Linked DNA regions of Homo sapiens: region 1 is linked to region 2. Evidence: promoter capture Hi-C in human tissues and cell types (Jung and others, 2019). All regions are on one chromosome and are shown on one strand. Each heading gives the region's core, a stretch centred on a gene start or on the middle of the fragment in contact. The rest is flanking DNA. Distances are from core to core; before and after follow the strand shown.

Evidence for each region. Contacts are between HindIII fragments. The study calls those that stand out against the background at their distance.
Region 1: a fragment that was not itself captured here is called in contact with the fragment with the promoter of PARD3B in region 2 in 1 of the 25 tissues and cell types used here (IMR-90 fibroblasts).

The regions. Positions count from the first base shown.
Region 1 is chr2:204,690,059-204,696,885 of GRCh38, reverse strand. The region is part of intron 2 of PARD3B (par-3 family cell polarity regulator beta); the gene reads right to left. Among named protein-coding and RNA genes, the nearest start is that of PARD3B, 150 kb to the right of the region's middle. The HindIII fragment of the contact is 4,065 bases long and covers 1,676-5,740 here.
Region 2 is chr2:204,539,954-204,546,891 of GRCh38, reverse strand. It overlaps PARD3B (par-3 family cell polarity regulator beta), which reads right to left and starts at 1,417. Exons shown (of 23, transcript NM_001302769.2): 1 at 773-1,417. The coding sequence starts at 892. RefSeq lists a silencer at 1,381-1,430. The HindIII fragment of the contact is 11,144 bases long and covers 1-6,552 here.

The sequences.
Region 1 (6,827 bases), core at 2,459-4,958, 150 kb before region 2:
AAGGAGGCTTTCTTCTTTATTGTTAAGAAAATGTCACTTGATCCTTCAAAACTGATTCATAACATCGAAGTAAAGCTAAAAAGATAACTTAAAAAGTTAAAAGAGTAAACATTAAGTTTAGTAATCCTGCCGCAATTCTGTAAGTGAAGTTTCCATATTCACATGACAGGGAAAACACACTTTCTTTCTAAATGTGATATTAAATACTTATAGGACTTTCAAACGCTACAACTTAAAAGCCTAAGCTTAAGGAAACTGAATATTCTTATTTACTAAAAATGTATCTATAAGTACAAGCGGTTTATATAGAATTTGGAACAGGTACCTCATAAAAGTGTGACAAACATCAGTTTGATTCCAAGAGAAGTCAAAAACGTCTTGTTGGATTCACAATATGGCTAATTAATAATATAAAGTGAGTTTAGGTCCTGGAAATAGGAGAACCAGCATAGTAAATTAAGAGTCTGGTATATGGTTACTCCCATTAAATTGCTCAATAGCAAATATCTCTTGGTGAAACTATCAAGTAACTAAATAGTTGCTTGTTTAAGGTTCAGTGGTTATTTGCCCATACTGAGCAGTGTCCTGTTGACCTGTTTTTTGTTTCCGTTTTTTTCTTCCGTTAAATCATGAGACCTCAGGTCATGATTTAACGGAAGGTCAGCTGTTTTTCTCACAACTTTCCATTTTATTTCTTGAGATTTTTCCTAACCTAAGATAGAGATACCTCCCCCGATACTCCCTATTGTTTCAAAGCACCCACCTCCCATTTTATAGAACCCGCTGTTACTCATTAAGAAATAGGCAGCAAACATGATACCTGATAACCTATGCAGACGTTATCAAGGTTCTGGAATCTTGGGAAGATTCTGAACAACTATCCTTGTACTTTAGTTTTCACCTTCCTTGATGGTCTGTACCTGGAAGTTCTGATATCCCTTCTTACCACCCACATTCACTTATTAAAGAAAAATGCAATTTTTGTTTCAGAAAACTACTTCTCCCTATACTCTCAGCACTAACTCTTTCCTGAACACCTCACTAGATGGCAAGAAGAGAAGAGTGGCCTTTTGACATAACCATCCTCCTCCCTTCCAAACCTCTCTGACATTCCTCTGTTCCTGGCTCAGTGTTCTCATACCACCACAAGCCCTTTCTGGGCTATGCAGAAATGTTTGCTTAAATACCTCAGGGCTGCTGCTACACGAGGAAAGAATAAAAGTGATATATTTGTGTGATACATCACAGTTCAAAATGTTACCACACACTCTTTCATTTCATTTGATCCTCCTCCTAAAAGCTGACTTTATAAACATGAGAACTGAGGTTGAGACAGCTTAAAATAAGAAAAACCTACATTCAAACTGTCAATGCCCTGTGCTCTGCCACATGACACTCTACAATACTGCTTTAGTGAAGCTGATTTCAGCTAGGTATTAGTGGAGCACGATCTGAATCAATACACACAGGTACTGGTGACTGACACTAGTACTCACAGGCATTTGCATTTTTAAAAGAAGATGTTTTATAGCTTAAGTAGTCTTCCATTTGGTATAATTTTAGGTATTACAATGAGATTGTAATTCGTAAGTTACATAAGTAAAAAAACAGATGTATATTAAAAAAAAATAATGGTCCCATACCCCTAGGCCAAAGATATGCCTATACAAATAGCTTCAAAAGAAGCTAATGTGAGAGAGAAAATTGGTAGAACTGGGTCCAGTAATGTAACATATGGTGAAAGGCATACTGTAAAGATGAAAGTGTTCATTGACTCTTATTTTGAATTACATTTTTAGCTCTAAGTAAAGCATTATTGTGATCTCAAATTTTATTGGGTTTTTCCCTCCAACCAAACTTAAAATTTTACACACATATCAAACATTTTCTTATGGTTTACTCTTCACTGTACTCAAATGCTTAGCTAAATTAATAATACCATAGAGCTTGATCATGTCATTCCAACCTCTGATGAAACCTGTGTGTCACAATTGTACACAACAAGCAAACAAATTCAGGGCAAGTGTACACACTCCTCCACATACATACATCTGTGCACAGATTCTCTCATCATACGTACATACACACATACACCCATACACACTATAGTTGTCAACCAACTAAATTGCGGAAGGCACATATCTGACATGGCCATCATCAAGATTACTGTAGTTTAAGTTACTATCTCTTGACACTATTTGCCTTAGCTATAGTAAGGTCACAAAGGCATTGATTCCAAAATTCTTCTCTGAGGTTGAAACATGCCCACAAACTGTCTCCTAATAAAATATTTCAAAGAGACAACGTAGTTTGGTGGAAGAAAAAGGTAGTCAATTAGAAATCTTCAATTCTAGTTCCCACTCTATCACTAACTAAAATTAAACATGTTTATGAAACACTGAACTACAGGTAAGAAGTCTATGGGCTAAAAAATATTTTAAACAATCATCCCAGTCCTAAAACAGCACACAAGACACCTGGACAGACAAACCAAGACTTAAAAAGTTAAACAATAAAATTCTTAAGAACTTCGAGATGGTAAGTGGTAAATGTTACTAGCCAATAACATTTGAAAAAGAAAAAAAGACCACTTAATCGTTTCTATAAAATTTCAGAGCACAGAGGATTTACTTTAGATTGAGATGATTTACAAATGTTGACTGGGATAAAATACAATTTCACCTTGATCTTGAAAAATTCATAAGAACTGAACAGCAGGAATAGATACATTTTTTACACGTATATAGTGCTTTGTAATTTCCATTGTATTTTCCTGCACACTTTTTCAACCTTCCCAATAATACGATGTGAACGATATCATTTATCACTCTCATTTTACCAATGGAAAAACTGGAGTTACAAGTGGTTGAATGGCTTATTCAAAACCTCAAAGCATACGTTCATTCATTGACTGTAATTATTTGAACAGCTAGGAAATGCCAGGCACTGCTGCAGGCACTGGGAATACAGCAGTGAATAAAGCAAAGACCCCCTCCTCATGGAGCTAATATTGAATAATACAAAATACAACATAAACTGAATCTTCGATGGGCAGGAAATAGGGACAAGGATATAGCAGACAACCGGAACATTAAGAAAAAAAGCTTTGGAGCTAGAAAGTCCATGATACATAATAAATCGTACAGTAGTTTCGCCACCACTGCGGTTGAAGTGGGTTTAGAGAAAGTTTGGAGGCATTGTGAGGCCTCTAAATGGCTACAAAGTTTGGACTTGATGCAGTATACACTAAAAGGAACAATATGATTTAAGCAATACTTTTTAAATAATGTAATTTACATTATTAATAGTGTGTTAATTACAATAACAATTGATGACTTACTACAGGCCAGGTGCTCTCCTGAACACTTCGTGTTAACTTACATAATTAGTACTATTTTTAGTTCCACTTATCCATGATGAAACTAAGGCACAAAGAGGTTTAGCAACTTGGACAAAACTAGACAAATAACAGGGCCAAGAAATGAACTGACTTTTTTGTCCAGAATCCAAGATCTTAACCATTCTGCCTACATACGAGGCACAAAAACAGCTGACAGGTAAGGAAGAGACTAAAAACAAGACGACCAATTTCTTGTCAATTACAGTAACCTTGGCCTGAAATATTATGGATATAAATTTGGTAGCTGTGGAAATTCAAAGACAAAAACAAACATATGGGAAAGGATAAAGGAAAGAATAAATTGGCTTTATTAAATAACTAAATTTTTAAAATAACTGCAAGTTCAAGTCTGGGAGACTAGGAGAAGGTGCTCCTAACCAACAAAAACAAGGATGTCAATGGAAGAAGCCAACTTGAAACTAACCAACAAAAACAAGGATGTCAATGGAGGAAGCCAACTTCAAACTGAGTAGTTTTGATCTGCATGAGATGTTATCAGCATCCTAGGGAGGAAATGCAGAAATGGACTCAGGAACTAAATCAGCTACAGACATCGTGTTCTATAACCTCTTCCTGGGTAGGATATTTCCTCTTTTGAAAGATGATGAGTTTAATCCACATGACTGTTGAGGTCTTGTTTGGATCCATGATTCTACAATTTTGTAATTCTATAAGCGGAGAGTAATCTTGAAAATTCTGAGCTAAAATTTCATGACCAAGGTAATTCATTTGTTCTTCAGGAGCTTCTGCATTTATTTCTGAAACCTTCTCCAAACTTCTTCTATGTGCTTTTGTGCTTTTATAACATCAACTCCCATGAACCAAAGTAAGACTTTTTGAAGGAAAAACAAAAACACATCATATCCTGATTTGTTTTTCTTTTAATTGTGGCTTTAAAATAGGTACTTTAGCTTGCGATGGAAATCTTACTGATAAAATGAGGGCTAAGAAATGAAATAAATCAGGACCTTTAAAAAAAAAAAAGCTGTTTAACTTAATTTAGCATTCTCCTTCTCCAGAAAACACAATATACTTCATAGATTGTCCAACTACAGACTGAATAAGTTACACACTTCATCACCACCAGCCATTAATCTTTCAGCCAGCAAACAGGTAGGCGGGAAGAAGTCTAAATTTAAAAATAAATTTAAAAGAGGAGTTTTTATAAATGCAAGGAATTTCCTTTAGCCCTTACTAGAAGATGCACAAAAGCACAGGGAAATATATGCAAACTCTGGCTTTATTCTCCATGCCTGAGTCTGTGAGTTGTAACAAAAAACATAGCAAAAATTATTTTCAAATAAAGTAGAACAAAATACTTCATCCTGTTCAGGAAGTAGCTCCTGTGAGCTGGTTTCTAGGTAACTGTGGACCCACTAGAGGGCAACAGAGTGTTCAGAAAGCAATTTGGCTTAAGAATAAAGAGCCTGGCTTTAGGTCACTAGTTCATGCAGCATTGCGCAAACCAGTCTCCATTTTAAAATCATGTTACATCTCCAAATGCTCCTTATGTTACCAAATAATATGTTCTGATAAAAGGATTCTCATTTCCAGTTTAATCATACTGGCATTTTCATTTCGCAAATAATAACAATATATTAATCCAAATGTTCTGTCATATTCAATATCTTCTTATAAAACTATTTTACCAATTTAATAACTTCATTCATATCAGTTTTGTTTAAAAAGCAGTTAAAATATACAGTAAAATAGTTTATTTGATGTTTAAATACCTAAAAACATCTAATGGTAACATCAAAACACCTACATTAAAAATACTGTAATAGCACTACCATAGTATCATTAATATAACAGCATTTGAGTTCTCAGTATATGCTATACTATACTTAAAATTTTATATAGTTTACCTACCTAGTTTTCCTACACCAACCCTGTAAGAACATTATATTCATTTTACAAATGGGGAAACCAAGACCAGAGAGATGAAGAAGCTTGCCCAAGGACTGATAACTAATAGGAGATAAAACTGAACTGAAATTATAACATTTGAATACCAGATATCACATGTGATCCAGTGGGCAATTCACTTGGAAGCCCTGAAAACCACTGGCATCTCTCCAAACTAGCCCCCTAGGATAGGCAAAATTTAGTCAAGAACAGAGGCATCTTTCCATGTTACTTTACTACATAATACAGTATTACTTTTGTACAGTTAATGAAACCATGGCAGTAATTGACTTTATATAATAGATGTGATAGACTGCCATGTTTTCATGTTATATTGCAGTTGTCTTCTTCAACCCAGCCAAAAATTAATAATGGCAATTACCAAAGAAAATAATCATTTTAAAAAGCTTAATACTCAGAAGCTCTCATGCTCACTTAAAAGGAAGGAAGCATTAAGCTTTGCAGTGGTTTACTAAGCATCAGTCTTCAGACTTCTTAGGGCCTTTACATACTGCAGCGAGAAACTGATAAGTGAACAAGGCTGTTTGTCTGTGACTTTGAAATAATTTCTACACTATAGACGATAACAGCATAATTAGATATTTAAAGATCAAGTCTCAAAGAGTGAAGGCTCACCCAATAAACTGAGGATCATTTGTGATGGACTTTGGGAGGAAGGCAAAGAACAAGGAACCCATCTGAAGTACAAAGCATTTATCTCATCCTGCAGGATCTCAATGCCCAGTCAATATGAAATTTGAGAAGACTAACATCACTTTAAAAGTTAAAATGGGAAAAGAGGCAGTGTATGTATTAGTGTCCTATTGCTGCTGTAGCAAGTCACCACAAATGCAATGGCTTAAAACATCACAAATTTATTATCTGACAGTTAAGAAATCTGAAACAAGTCTCACTGGGCTAAAATCAAGGTATCAGCAGGACTGTGTTCTCTCTGGAGGCTTTAGGGGAGAATCCATTCCCTTACTGATTCCAATGTCAGAGGCCAGCTACATTCTTCGCTGGTGGCACCTTCTCCATCTTCACAGCTGGCATTGGCTGGGTGTGTCTTTCTCACATTTATCTCTCTAATACTCTCCTGCCTTCTTCTTTCATTTATAAGGATGCTTGTGACTACATTGGGTCCATCCAAATAATCCAGAATAATCTCTCCATTTTAAGATCCTTAAGCACATCTGCAAAGACGCTGTGTCATGTAACATTCATATTCACAGGTTGTAGAGATTAGGGAGTAGACATTTTTGAGGCGCCATTACTCTGCCTACTGAAAACAGCACAGTCTATAGTTGGTGCAAAAAAGTAGTTACTGTAATACAAACTTGTTTTTCTTTGTAATTGCATATGGTGGTTAGACTTCAAGTGCAGTCTAAAGCGTCCAACTGAAATTAAACTGTATCTAAATCAAATAATCTGGGTCCTAGAGAAAAGAGGATGCAAAAGAAAGCAACAGAGGTAGAGCTGACAAGCCTTTACAATAAACTAGATGCAGGCTATAGGCAAA
Region 2 (6,938 bases), core at 168-2,667:
CCAGATATTTTCTCAACATGTATTGCACACTTAAAAAAAATTGTCACTTAATTTATACTTGTTCCTGACTTCAGCTACAGAGCTAGGAACGTCTTTCTCATTTTAATAGTCACTCAGGACCTGACAACAGCCCACACACATAGTAAATGGTCATAGAATCTGTGACATTAAACTGAAAACACTCAAAATGTAGACAGGTTGGCTAAGCAAACAGCATGCTCCCACCTGTGTTCCTGCCCAAGTCACTGAGACAGGGCAGCTCACAAGGCTGAAACTCCAAAGGCCCCATCAGTTGTAACTTCCGAGTATGTGTCACTTGCACAATCAACTTTCTAACTCCAAGGAGCCTAAGTGAGGCGGGCCTTAATGGGTCAAAAATCACACTTAGGTGAGCAGCACCTTTTAAGACGTTCCCTCAAACAAGTTCTAAACCAGTGGTTCTCAAACTTCAGTGGGCATTCCAATCACCTGGGGATCTCGTTAAAGAGCAGATCCTGAGTCGGTGGGTTTGGAGAACTGCCCATATTGGGCAGTTCTAAGAAGCTCCCAAGAGATTCCAATGCTGCAGGTCCACTCACGACCCTCGGAGCTCAAGGCCCACAAACACCCAAAGACACCCACATCACTGATATTAGCAATAGACAACAGCTGCAGCTACAGGCAGTGCCCCATAATCCCCTGGGTTTTCTGCATCCCCTGAGTGTCGCCACCGGGTCGCACCTGGCAGGTGCCTTGGCTGCAGCCGCGCCCCACTCCTCCGCGCCGCGCTCACCTTCTCCCGGGTCTTCAGGTACCGCTGCAGCGCCTGCTGGGTGAGCTCGCCGACGCGCAGCTGGCCCTCCTTGCAGGGCACCACGATGCCCGTCCTGCCGAAGCACACGGTCACTTTCATCCTGGCCCCCGGCGACCACGCCGGGCCGGGCCGAACAGGTGTCTGACCCCGCGGGCGCAGCCCCCACTCTCGGAGGACGCCCGGGGCGGGTGGGCCCAGAGACCCGGGGCGCCGCTCCCCGGAACACCCTGAGGCCCGGAGGCTCGCGGCAGCGCCCCTTCCACCTGGCCAGGCGGCAGGTGGCGGGAATCGGGGAGGGGCGGCCGCGGAAAGGGGTTACCTCCCAGGTGCCCGGCGGCCCGGGACGCGGCAGCTCCGCGGCACCGGCTCCTCCTCCTCCTCCTCCCGCTCCTACTCCTGCCCGGCCCAGGCGGCTGCTCCGCGCCCACCAAAGCGAAACTGCCGGCCCTGCCCTGTCGCTGGTCCTGGCCCTGGCCCTGGCCCTGGCGGCGTTGGCAGGGCCGGCCCCAAGCCGGGGGCTGGAGTGGGCGGCGGCGGCGGCGGCGCACGGGGCCAGAGTTGGGAGGAAACTTTTGCGCCGGCTCCCAACTCCTCTGCGGCGCCCGCGCTCTGGGCTCCTGCGGTCCCGGCGACGGCCTGGGCCCGGCTCTTAAAGGGGCCGCGGCGCTCCCGGGCCCCGCCGCACGCTGGGCGACGACGTGCCCCGGCCCTGCGGGCCAGTAACTGGAGCCCGGGAGCCTCGTCTCGTCACCTGGGTCTCTCCCTGGCTCTCTCCCTCTCGCACGCATGCACACGGAGCTCTGGGGAGTTGTAAGGGGACCTGAGGGCTACACGCTCGAGGATTGAAACCGGATCTCAGAAAGAACACCCGAGGGAAGAGCGAGGAGACTGCAGAGCTGCGCCCTTCACAGGAGGGGACTGCAGCAAGATGCAAAAGGAGCCCAGGAGCAGGTGCTTCTAGTCACGCCCACCAAAAACACCCAAGGGGCGAGGCTGCCGGGTGCGGAGATGCAGGAGTGCCCCGAGGGCCTGTTAGGAACTCGCCTTAAGCACAGCCCGTGCCGCTGCCATCAGGAGCCCTGGGATAGCAGAGCTGAAGCGAACCTTGGAGAGAACGCGCCAGTGGAAACTTTTCCTTTTACAGACCCTCGAGGACACTGAGTATTTGGCCAAAGGTCACACCCAAGACCCAGATATGATCGCGTGTGTTGACACATAGCCTTCTGGAATGCGACTACCGTTGTGCATTTTATTAGGAAAAAAAAAAGTTAACACCCTTAGGCTCATGATTTGGCAGGTGTGTATCCATCACCAATTGAAATGGGAATATGTGGGGGAAACCAACAAATTACGTTAGTTTCATTCTTAGCTCTCATGTAAATGAGCTCCTTTGAGCTTAACAACTACCCGGTAGGTAGATATTATTCTTCGCATCTTGTGCATCAAGAATGGTGCTCGGAGAGGTCAAGAGACTGAGCAGACCATGGTGTTAGTTCTGTTGAAAAGAACTCAGGTCTTCTGAGCTCAATCTCTGGTCTCTCCCTGCAGTTTTCTTAGCCATCCAGTTCATCCAGCAAGACCCTCAGGGCTGCATCATGTGTTTCTCTACAGAAGGATGTGCTCCTATGTGGACACACTTAAATTGAACGTGAATTGCCTAGGATGGTATGATAATGCAGAGGAGATTAAATTCATGGGTTTCAAGAGGTTTTTTAAAAAAATAAATTTTAGCTCATTCATACATTCAGTAAGTATATATTGGTTGTCTTCTATGTATAGAAAGTCAGTGGCAAACCAAGAGGATCACGTAAACCAAGTCCATTGTAATTTGGTTGTAAATCCAATACAAACTAATTTACATTTAAATAAACCAAAGACAGAATTGATCACCTCATAAAATCAGAAGATCCAGAGGGCACTCCATTGAGGCAAGGTTGAAAGCAGGAACTCAAACTATGTCCTCAGGGGCCAGCTAGCTCTGTCCAGCTCTTAGCTCTATCTGTTCCTCAGTGTGGTCTCCATTCTCAGGCCAGCTCTCTTCAAAGGAGACACTTTATCCTCTTTTTAGAGATGAGGAGCTGAGGCCAAAGGAAGTTAAATGATTTAGTTAAAATCTCATTCTTAGAAAGTAGCAGAGGCTGGCTTAAAACCCAGGTCATCTGATTCCAGAGTCTTCATCGTAACTGCTGTGCTGTTTCTTACATGAGAAGTACCAATGAGTGAATCAAACAAACAAATAGATACTGATGCCGTGCATTAATGTGTGGCCCTCACTTTTAATATTCGGTATTTCATGGACCTATAGAATGGTACAGAGCAAAGATTTTCCACTGATGAAATAACTTTGCATGTTGCCATCCTTCCTGCATCGTGGCTTTTTGCTTTACAGTTGCTCCAGACTCATTTTCTTCTGCTTGGGTCATGAATAGCTCCTCCTCTTCGCCACAAATTCCCTCTTAGCCCAGCTTTAGCTCCTTCCCAATATCTAGAACCTCCCACCCCAAGTCCTGGCTTTGATAATCCCCAAGTGAACCATAAAGAACACTCCGGCTCTCCCAGTTCCACTTGGGAAGTTGGAATCGGGACCTAGGGGATGCAGCAGAGGCCATGCCATTGTGAGATGAAGGAAGAGATGACTCTAGACAAGGATGTGAACAGTGCATTGTGCAATCCTGTACACCATGGGGTGACCTTTTATAGCCCTAAGTTAGTATGAAGAGTTTAGTGTTTACATTTCATGTTTATTAAATAGCCAGGTTTAATTTGTTATTCAGCCTCATCACAGCATATATAGAAACAATTTACCATATATTATCAAGGGATTAAAAAAAAGAACACAATTGCAACACACAGTCATTCATGCCCAGCAAATTCCTAAATCAATATTTCATGCCCCATGGGACCTCCTGGGCAGAAGACAATAAATAATTTGCCTTGATTGAGTAACACTAGATGATGCCAAGCCCGGGTTCCATTTTCTTGTTTTGCCTGCTCGGTAGATAAATATGCCTGTGATGTGATATTTTTCCATTTGTTATCCAACAGCTTAGCAAGTACTGGAGTAGCCAGTAAAGAAGTGTTATACAGAGAAAGAACAATAATCCTGACCAATATTATTAAACCACCCTGCCTAACTAAAATGTCAGGTACTATCAGGTATACATTGAATGAAGAATGATAATATTTAATCTATAGTTGACCAGTAATTGAGTCTCATGTTTTGCACTGTTAAACAAAATATTTTTACCTTTCAAGGAATTATTTATAGCAAGTACTATTTATCACAAAAAAATTGAATCAATTTTACTAATTAAATTAACTTATTTATAAAACCCTTGGAGCATTAGTATAAAAGATCACATTCTTTGCTTCCTTCTGAAAGCAGGTGCAAGAATGATTGCATAAATAATGAAAGAGAAAAATGGGTATTCGTTTTCATTTTTTCCCTTTTATATTTAAAAGCAAATGGTCTGGGTTATTGTTTAACTGGACAAGAATGGATTCTTCTTTAGAGCTGTTTGTCTCTAAATACTGCATGGCATTCATTTGTTGACATTTTTGGTTATTTATTTCTGTAGCTGTCCTGGATGCACAAATAACAATGCTCTTCACCCTAAGGGGAATATTATGGGCCACCGGCTTTTTGGAAGGTCCATTTTTTGCCCATCCTATAAGCAAGACTCACAAGTCTTCACAAATGGTACAGCTATATCACCCCTCCTTATATTGAATTCTACTCTGTAGAAACTAATATTCTCCCTAAGTTTGTTTTCTTGAAAAGGAGCTGAATCATGAAATGAGCATCTCTTAAAAAAAAAAAAAAGTAAAATGAGCAACCAAAAGCAAGGAAACTGTCCTGATGCTGTTATATTAAGTTAATTTTGATTATTAATTAGTTGTTTTCCTCAATGTGTGATCTCCTTCTCTGAAGCTCACTGGGGCCCATTAACGGTAAGCACAGGAATAGGCCCTACTCTGGATAGGACCAAGTCCTTTCACCTCTAGGCATCTGTAGAAGACTGTTAGAAAGAGGGCCAATAGCAGTGGTCATTGGTGCTCTCCAGCAAGCTCAGCTGTCCAAAGATAGCTTTGAGGTAAGGGTGCAACCAAGAGTTCTCTTTTCAATTCTGCTTACTTTACCAAAGGCCACTTTCTGATTCTCATTTATATCCCTTTACTTGGAGAGGAAGTGAACGGGCATCCATGTAATTGACAGAAGGTAGAGAGAGATTTGGGCCTGGACATTTCAGTGTGTAAGTCATGTGTGCGCAGTGATAAGCTAAGTAATCTTAGTCATATGTCACTATCCTTTTTTGTAAAATGGGATGATAACTCTATTTTAAGGTGTAATATACATAAAGCACTCAACACATAGTAGGCAAGATATATTGCCCTCTTTCAACTTTTTTTCCACTTACTAGCATTTCTAAATGTCACTTGTTTTCATTGAGTCTGAAACTACTTGCAAAGTGAAACAATTCAAATGATACGTAGAAACTGCACATCAAGTACACAACTGCTGGAGACAAAGTGTAACTAGCTCTGTAATGAGGGTGCCAGGACCATAGCAAAACTAATGTTAAGATGTGTATTCTAATTCACAATCTACATATTATTTCATTTGATGCTCAAAAAGCAATCCGGAAACATTTAATCTAGTATCTGAGAATCACAGAATTACAGAGCTGAATGGGGCCTTGCAGATTACCTGATACAATATCCTCATTTTGTAGATGAGGAAACTGGATTAGAGAGGTCAAGGAAACTGGTTCAGCCAGAATCAGAACCCAGAACCTCTTGGTCATAGTCCAGTGCTTTCTTCACTTCCCTGTCTGTCTGGTAACAGAATTTATAACATTAGATATTTGACCAACATTAGTTTAAGGCTTTGTGGTTTGTTGTTGTTGTTGAGACAGAGTCTAGCTCTGTTGCACAGGCTGGAGTGCAGTGGTGCAATCTTGGCTCACTGAAGCCTCTGCTTCCTGGGTTCAAGCAATTCTCCTGCCTCAGCCTCCTGAGTAGCTGGAATTACAGATGTGTGCCACCACACCTGGCTAATTTTTGTATTTTTAGTAGAGACGAGTTTTCACCATGTTGGCCAGGCTGGTCTTGAACTCCTAACTTCAAGTGATCTGCCTTTTTTGAGCTCCCAAAGTGCTGGGATTACAGGTGTGAGCTACCGGAGCCAGCCATGGCTCAAGGCTTTGAACTCTCACTGGGCTAGGAAGTGCTGGTATGGTGTTCATTCTTCTACCTATTCCTTCAGTTTCAATTTAAACTTAAGATTCTGAACACTTATTCTCCCCACAATTGTAAATATCAAAAAAGTTTGCTGAGTATTTAAATGACTATTGCAGAAAATTATAAACCACCAAAGGATTTTAAGCAGGACAGTAACATGATCGGATTTGTGTTTGGTGGAATGCAGAGGACCTGAGAGACAGGCAGAAGCCCCATCTTAGTTCATTCAATCCACCATTCATTTTCTAATGCAACAGTAGTTTTTCAACACCTATAACGTAACTGAGCACAAAGTGACTATGAAGCTTAGACCCTAGTGAGGAAGACAGATAATAAATGACTAATCAAATGAACAAAATATTTGCACATTGTTATAAAGTATAATAAAAGGTACAAACAGCAGGGTTCTGTAATAGAGAATAATTGGGTAAGGGAGAACCTATTTATATTGGATTGGTAAGAGAAAAAAAGTTACTTTGGGAAGAACCCAGAGAAAAGGTGAACAGTAAATGCAAATATCTCTGAGATAAGACCAAGAGTGATGTGTTTTAGGAATTAAGAAAAAGCCAGTTTGGTTCCTGGAGCATTAATGAGCCAAAAGACAGGCAGGAAATGAGGTAGAAGAGATTGTCTACAGCAGTGGCCTCCTAGAAGACTAAGGCAATACAGATGATGAAGAGGGGAAGATTGGGGATATCTTTCCGAATTTGTGATAGGTGGAGGATGGTAAGCTTTGGGGAAAAATTAAGAAACATTGTTTTCTAGTTCAGACAACTAGTTAATAAGTGACATAATTGGCCGGGCACAGTGGCTCACACCTGTAATCCTACCACTTTGGGAGGCCGAGGCGGGTGGATCACCTGAAGTCAGGAGTTCAAGACCAGCCTGCCCAACATAGTGAAAC